2 separate regions of the Homo sapiens genome follow, and region 1 is linked to region 2. The links are contacts of gene promoters, found by promoter capture Hi-C in blood cells and fetal thymus (Javierre and others, 2016). All regions are on one chromosome and are shown on one strand. The core of a region is centred on a gene start or on the middle of the fragment in contact, and the rest is flanking DNA. Distances in the headings are between cores, read along the strand shown. Region 1 overlaps LOC284009 (a long non-coding RNA gene). Region 2 holds the start of CLUH (CLUH binding protein of NUMT mRNA).

Region 1 (3,995 bases), core at 1,133-3,632, 310 kb before region 2:
GAGGGCCAGATCTGTGCTGGCTCCAACATTGCTTCCTTTAAGGTGTCTGCCACTTGCCACCAGTATGGTTGGGCCTGGCCCATTCTGCACAACTAGAGAAAATGGAAAATTCAAAGGCAATATAATATATAGGCGGCAGTGGAACAGGGACTCTCAACAGTATACAGACAGTCCCTGACTTGTGATGGTTTGACACAGGACTTTCCAAGTTTGCAATGGTTGTAAAAGTGATAATCTAGCATGCGCTCAATTTAGGATGGGATTATGGCTGGTGAAACCCGTCCTAAGTGGAGCTGCATCTATACATGATTGTGACCTGAGTTAATGCTTTTGGGCAAGTTCTTATTTTGTGTGGGGTCAGCACCGTGGTGCACAGTGCTCCATCCAGCTGTCCCTTCCTGCTCTCCTCAGGTGGCCATGCACTCATACAGCCCTGGAGTTTCTGCTGAAGGCTGAGGTTTAATTTTTTACACTCTTCTTTGTCACTGGCCAACTCTATACCAGTAAGTAGGCACCTCTCTGAAAGGCAGTGTTCTTAAGACACTGTTCGCTTCAGGGGTGAGGAAGCAGAAGGTAAGAGTAGAGTGAACACAGATTTGAATGCCAGCCTCTCCATTGCCCCCAATACTCCATCTGCTCCAGAGCTTAGTGGAGATGTTTGCTATTTAAAACAAACAGCCTTACTGGCTTCACATGATCATCTGTTTATTTGGGTCATGTGGGGACAGCAGCCAGGGGATGTTAGACAAAAACAAGGGTTTAGAAGGGAGGCTGCAGGCCAGGAGCGGTGGCTCACGCCTGTAATCCCAGCACTTTGGGAGGCCGAGGTGCATGGATCACTTGAGGTCCGGAGTTCGAGACAATCCTGGCCAACGTGGTGTGGTGAAACCCTGTCTCTACTAAAAAAAAAAAAAAAAAAAGGAAGAAAAAAGAAAATTAGCTGGGCGTGGTGGCAGGCGCCTGTAATCCCAGCTACTGGGGGTGGTTAAGGCAGGAGAGTCACTTGAACCCGGGAGGTGGAGGTTGCAGTGAGCTGAGATGACACCACTGCACTCCAGCCTGGGCCACAGAGAGAGACTCCGTCTCCAAAAAAAAAAAAAAAAAAAAAAAAAAAGGGTGGGGGAGGCTGTTTCTGGACCTATTGTTGCCTACAGGAGCCTGAAAATGGCCAAAAACAATACCTCATCAACCAAGCTTTCCCCAGTTGAGGAATGGACAGTGGGGGTGGGAGATACCTATAAATGGCGATGTGAGGGCATGAAAGAAGAGGGGAATGAATAGGAGGGCTGTTTAATATTTTAGCCCCAGCTTCCTGTTCCAAGGGGGTGGAGCCAGGATAGAAGCTGGCAAATGTACTCACTCAAGAGAAAGAGAAATAAGTCCTTTTGGTTTCAGCAGAAAGGTTAGCAGGTTTGGGGAATTATCCAAAGGCCAGCAATCTCTAAAAAGGTGTTCCTTAAGTTTCTTTTTCTTTTTTTCTTTTTTGAGATAGAGTCTCCCTCTGTTGCCCAGGCTGGAGTGCAGTGGTGTGATCTTGGCTCACTGCAACTTCTGCCTCCCAGGTTCAAGTGATTCTCCTGCCTCAGCCTCCGGAGTAGCTGGGATTACAAGCACGCACCACCACGCCCGGCTAATTTTTGTATTTTTAGTAGAGACGGGGTTTCACCATGTTGGCCAGGCTGGTCTCAAACTCCTGACCTCAAGTGATCTGCCTGTCTTGGCCTCCCAAAGGGCTGGGATGACAGGCGTGAGCCACCGCGCCCGGCTGTTCCTTAAGTTTCTTCATGGCTTCTGGGTGCTTAGTACCTTGGAGCAGGAGAAAAGCTGGGCTGTCCATCATTGTGAGTTTCTCACGAGAGGGTTTCCGTTTTCAGTCTTCCTCCCCGAGTCTTGTGCACCCCACCTCCCAGTTCAAATTCCATTATGTCCTCCAATTTTTTAATCTTTTATTCTTTTTTTCACCAACCACAATAAGAAGCACCAATTCCCCAATTTTTTAATATGCTGAGCCAGAGACATCCCCTTAGTGGAACTGTCTTCCTATCCCCCACCACTCACCTAACAAAGTATCAACTCCAAGAGCTATGAAAATCAGTGCCCTGACTCCTACAAAGCCTGAGTCATGAGATGGGGGAAAGGGCGTGAAGCCGAAAGTACAGATGTTCACAGGAAATCCCAACCCTTCAAGCCTGATGTCTCATCTTTTGCAAGCAGCTAAGGAGCTTTTCACATACCATCATTAAAACAAGACCCATGGGAGGAAGCTGGCTGCAGGATGAAGAGGAAAAAACAGAAGACTAGTACACTCAAGACATACCAGAGAAGATCCATTTCATAAATATTTATTGTGTGCCTGAGGTGCCAAGCACTAGGCTAGGTATGCTGTGGCCAAGGCCAGGGGACCTCTGGTAAGCCAGAGCGGGGCAAAAGCAAACAGAGCGGAACTCCACTCCACTGTGATAACTTGCAAAAGATTAGTTCTGCTGTTCGCCACCGTGCTGGATGCAGCACCAGAGACAGGACGACACGAGGACCCAGAGGGCGCCGCCATGCTCATTTCAGAAGGTGCAGCCTCCGTGTCCGTGGGTCCGCACCCATGGAGGCAACTAACCGTGGATCAAAAATATTCAGGAAAAAAAAATGGAAAATATACAAGAAAAAATAATACAAATTTAAAAACCAACACAGCACAAGAACTATTTACACAGCATTTACATGGTATGAGGTATTTGAGTAGCGCAGAGATGAGTTAAAGGATACCTGAGGATGTGCATAGGTTACATGTAAGGGATTTGAGCATCATCCATGGACAGGTATTCAGGGAGGCTCCAGGAACCAATCCCCATTGGACAGTGAGAAGCAACTGTAATTCCGTTTTTCTATGTAGAGATAAAAACAAATTCAGTGGATTTAAGGCTGGGCCAGTCAACTGAGCCTGATTCCCCCAGTCTGAATGATGAGTGGGACTCTGAATTCCTTTGACAGAGGTGGACCCATTCAATCATCAGTGAAATGGGGTCCCCACAGCCAAAAGTTTCCACAGGACTCTTTACCTCCTTTCCCCACCCCAAGTGAGTTGTCAGAGGACCTCTCCTGAACTCACAGAACAGGTCCAATCAAGTTCCACCTCCCCATTCATGTCCTTTCCAGAAGCTGGGCGCGGTGGCTCACGCCCTAAGTTCCAGCTACGTGGGAGGCTGAGACAGGAGAATCGCCTGAGCCCAGGATTTCAAGGCCAGCCTGGGCAACATAGCAAGATACTGTCTCAAAAAAAAAAAAAAAAAAATTGCAGCCTCACATGATGTCATAGCTGGAAGAGCTGGGATCATGGGGTCTGACCTCCCAAGAGAAGGTGTATCCAAGGTCACAAAGCTGCCAAGCATCAGCTAGGTTGAGAAGTGGCCTGGTCCTCCTCTTTGGCTGGCTGGGCCAGGCCTGGGGAAGTGCTATCAGTGTGGGGTGTTGAGTCCCTGAAAGCCTCCCAGAAGTGGGTGAAGATGGAGAGGGAACTCCACCCCTCCTCGTTAAAGACAGGAATAATCATTCACTTTGCTTAGTGGTCCCCAATAAACAAGCTTAGCAGATAAGCGGGAAGACAGGGAAAGGGAATCAGACTTGGGATCCAGGAGCTCGCAGGACCCTGTTCTGCCCCAGGCCACTCAGGAATGGAGAGCTGCTAGCTGGACCTGGGTAGGTCACCATTACTCACTGGGGCTTTTGTCTGGCATGAAAGGTGACGGGAGAAAGGGGCAGATTTTTATCCAGGCAGCCACCGTGGGTGTGGACACTGAGTAATAAGGAAAGAAATGCAGTTCAGAAGCAAAGAGGGAGGAGCCAGGTCCTCTGAGCTCTTCTGAGAAACCAGAGCCCAGTCGAGCTCTGCAGCTAGAGTGGCAGCTGCGGATGACAGTGGGTCAGAAGCTTGGTGGGAGGAGGCTGACCCAGCGGAAAGGCACAGGAGACGGATGACGATGTCAGGGATTCCTTTAAAGGAA
Region 2 (3,928 bases), core at 409-2,908:
GCCTTGGCTTGCTGGCCATGAGCTGGAATCCAAACACTTCCCTTAACAGCTAAATCGCTGTGTGACCTTGGGCAAGTCACTTCGACTCTTCGGGTCTCTGCTAGAGGGGAAATCAGCCAACCTCCTCTCATCCAGCCTGCCCCCACTGATTCAGAGCCACATCAGCACAAAGCCTGGTAGGTTGGGGCGATGAGCATCTGCTCTTCTGCCCAAACCTTGGCCTTGTCTAGACAATCAGCAGTACTGCCCCAGCACCTGTCCCTCACCCCAAGGCAACTCCGCTATGATGGGAACAGGGTCAGAGGGCTGAACGCTGTCCCCATCCTGATTCCCAAGTCAGCCCTGGCGCACTCACTGAAGCTAGGAAGGGAGATGATGAGGCGTTAAGACCACAAGTCCCAACTGAGGACAGTCGACGGAGGAGGGAGGGACTGGGGGACAGGAGTAGCTCTGCACCTCCACTGCCACCCAGAGCAAAGAGGGCCTGAGGAAGATGACGACTGAGGGCCTGGGAAGGGGATTCCAGCCCCAAGGCTGGAGTCTGAGACACGGTGGAGGGAACAGAAGGAAGAGAAGGGGCTCAGGAGAAAGGGAAAGCAGGCCCCACCCGAGACAAGCTGCAGCCACTGCCACAGTCACCACCATACAGCCCCCATGGGGGATCGCTGGGAGCTTGACTCCACACTAACGACCTTTGCCTTAAAAACAGCAACTCTGGTCTGACCCACTTTTCGCAATAAGGCAGGTTAATGATCAAGTTCTGGCACAAACACTTCCCCCTGCCAAGGAGTTTGGCTCTGCCCCATGCAAAGGCAGACGCCCCCTACACCAGGTCGGCCGAGCAGGCCAACACACCTGAGAGTCTCCGCCACAGCCTGAAGACCTGCGGTTATAGCCTGGCCTCAGGGCATGAACCAGGGACGCCCCTCACAACGCACACCCCGCACCTCGTGCTCTTCCCACAAACCAAGCCTGGGAAGCCTCGAGCGGAGCTTCACTCCCAGGGCTGCAGCCCTGCGCACAGGGGATGCCTGGGAGGCCGCCGCGGAGCAGGTGCCGAAGGGGGCTGTCCCGCAAACGTCGGAGCGACCCCAGCTCAGAGAGCTCCCATGCTCGGGCGCAGAGGGGGTGGGGCCGCCGATTCTTTCGGTCTGCGGCGGCGGCGCACCCCGAAACCGCGTGTGCGCGCACGTGTCCCCGCGATGAGGCGCGCGTGTGCCCGCCGAGGGTGCCAGCCGAGGCTGCCCTCCACGGGACCGCACGTGCGAAACCCGGGCCGCAGCCGGGGGCGACTGTGAAGGTGACCTTCAGCGCGGGGGCGACCCGGTGAAGGCCCCAGCGAGATACAACCGGGCCCGACGCGGAGGGAAGGCGGCGATCCCCGCGGAGTCCCGAACCCGCCCGCCCTGGTCCGGCGCCCCCCGCCCAGCGGCCCGCTGGCCCTGGCCCCGCTCACCGGCCGCGCCCGGCCGCCCCTTGCCCCCGGCCTGCGAGCCGTGTTCCCGGGCGCTGTCGGCCGGGGCGGCCGCCGGCAACTCGTCCGTCTTGATAACCATGGTGGCGGGAGCGGGCGTCCGCCTCGGCTGTCCGCGCCGCCCGCCGCGCCACTAACCCAAGTGCCCTGCGCGCCGCGGCTGCTGAGGGAAGGACGGAGTCACCGGCCCACGTGGTGCGCGCCGTGGCCTTTGACCCCGCCGCCGTTTCCCTGCCCCACCCTCGCGCCCGGCCCAGCCCACGGCGGCCCGCGAGGGACAAAACGCGCCGCGCCTGGTTCCCCGCCCACGGACGCGGTGACTTTCCAGAACGTCTTAAAGGCAACGCACTCTGACTCAAGGCCCAGGGAGGCTGGGCGCCCTCGCGGGGCGGGGCCTCGGGGAGACTCCCTGCTGCTCGCTGCCCGTCGGGCGGGCACTGTGACCTTGGGTGGAGACTGGTCTGGTTCTGCCATGGCTAATCCTCCCCTCTCCAAGGATCCCCTGTTTTCTCTTGCAGATTTGCTAAATGACCGCGCAGTCTGTCATCTGCGGTGTTCGCGTGACCCTCAGCGCCCTCCCCACCCGGCAGGCCCTTTCCCGCCGAATGGGTGCGGCTGGATTATTGAGGGAGTGGAGGGTCGCTTAGGGCACGGGCACGAGAGGCGAGGGCGAGACGTGGCTAATGGGGATCAAGAGTCAGAATGGACCCGCCAAACTTTGCCCCGAGCCAGAACGGGCTCCCTACCCGCGTCCTCGACCCATGGGTCCTCACCTCCAGGCTGGTGTCCTCATTTTACAGTGGAGGAGGCCGAGACCAAGGTCACACAGAGAGCAAGGGGTAGAGCCGGGTCTGACTCCATCCACAGCCAGGACGCTTTAACTCGTATTTTTCACTTGGCAGGGGCTTGGCGGGGACGGAACGGTGAGGTCAGAGAATGCTGCAGAGGGGACATTGGGACCAGGTCTTGCAGTGAGTTGAAGTGCTCCAGGCAGAGAGCGCCGGTGGGTCTTTCCTGGCCAGGCCGCAGGGGGCCTTTGGGAAGCACCCGAGGCCTATAACCTTCGGAGCGTTTGTCAAGCTCTAATGAGAACTGGAAAGCTTCAGCTTCCCGAGGTGGGCTGGGAGGGCCTTAGGTAGGGCCTCGCACAAATTGCGAAGGAAAGCCGACCTTGTTCTGGAGAGCACGTGGTGAGGAAAGCCAGCGACTTGATGTGAGCATTTAAACGGGAGGAAGGAAGATGAGAACTGGTAAGATTCTTCTCGGCCGGGCGGTGCAGCGGCTCACGCCTGTAATCCTAGCACTTTGGGAGGCCGAAGCCAGGCGGATGACTTGAGTTCAGGATTCGGAAGTTTGAGACCAACCTGGGCAACATTTCAAAACCCCCGTCTCTACAAAAAATATTGTTTAAAAAAAGCCAGGTGTAGTGGCACGCGCCTGTAGTCCCAGCTACTTGGGAGCTGAGCTGGGAGTATCACTCAGGACGGCTCAGATTGAGCCCAGGAGTTCCAAGCTGCAGTGAGCTATGATCGCACCACTGCACTCCTGCCTGGGTGACACAGACACCGTCTCAAAAAAAAAAAAAAAAAAAAAGCCGGGCGCGGTGGCTCACGCCTGTAATTCCAGCACTTTGGGAGGCAGAGGCGGGCGGATCACGAGGTCAGGAATTAGAGACCAGCCTGGCCAAGATGGTGAAACCCCGTCTCTACTAAAAATACAAAAATTAGCTGCGCATGGTGGTGTGCGCCTGTAGTCCCAGCTACTCGGGTGGCTGAGGCAGAAGAATCGCTTGAACCCAGGAGGTGGAGGTTGCGGTGAGCCGAGATCGCGCCATTGCACTCCAGCTTGGGCAACAAGAGAGAAACTCCGTCTCAAAAAAAGAAAAAAAAAGTGTGCATATATATATATAGTGTGTGTATATATATATAGTGTGTATATATAGTGTGTATATATATAGTGTGTGTATATATATAGTGTGTATATATATAAGTGTATATATAAAATATATATATTTATAATCAATATATATAAAAGTGTGTATATATGTGTGTATATATACACATACATACTTATGTGTGCGTGTGTATATACGTATGTGTATACACACACTCGTTCCTCTTTTGTTACACAAATGTGCAGAAAATTGTACCTGCTATTCTTCACTCTGATTTTTTTTTTACACGCTTTCAGTAGGTGTTCTCATTCCATTTACGCTGGATAATGTTGTATTGTTTGGTTGTACCATAATTCTTTTAGCCGGTCACCTGACTGATGGGTACTTAGTTTGTATTCATGAAACTCCAGGGTTTTTGAGAATTGTGCCTAGTGGCCCAGTGCAGCTGAAGTTGGAAGCCCGTGCATGTTGCTAATGCTACTCATAATAGGAAGCTCAGTTTTAACCCTGGGGGTTGGGGAAGAGCAGCAAGCCTGGGGTTAGAGAAACAGACACGTATA

What was found. The method cuts DNA at HindIII sites, captures the fragments that hold promoters and counts their contacts. A CHiCAGO score of 5 or more calls a contact.
Region 1: a fragment that was not itself captured here is called in contact with the fragment with the promoter of CLUH in region 2 in 1 of 17 cell types (fetal thymus); the score reaches 5.6 in fetal thymus.

The regions. Positions count from the first base shown.
Region 1 is chr17:2,403,247-2,407,241 of GRCh38, forward strand. It overlaps LOC284009 (a long non-coding RNA gene), which reads right to left. Exons shown (of 3, transcript NR_028335.1): 3 at 3,735-3,984. Among named protein-coding and RNA genes, the nearest start is that of MNT, 4.2 kb to the left of the region's middle. The HindIII fragment of the contact is 2,381 bases long and covers 1,193-3,573 here.
Region 2 is chr17:2,710,106-2,714,033 of GRCh38, forward strand. It overlaps CLUH (CLUH binding protein of NUMT mRNA), which reads right to left and starts at 1,659. Exons shown (of 26, transcript NM_001366661.1): 1 at 1,457-1,659. The coding sequence starts at 1,556. It overlaps LOC105371592 (a long non-coding RNA gene), which reads left to right and starts at 2,204. Exons shown (of 2, transcript NR_136412.1): 1 at 2,204-2,294; 2 at 2,377-2,728. RefSeq lists enhancers at 218-297, 1,132-2,028, 2,029-2,924 and silencers at 1,538-1,657, 1,788-1,967. The HindIII fragment of the contact is 7,311 bases long and covers 1-2,572 here.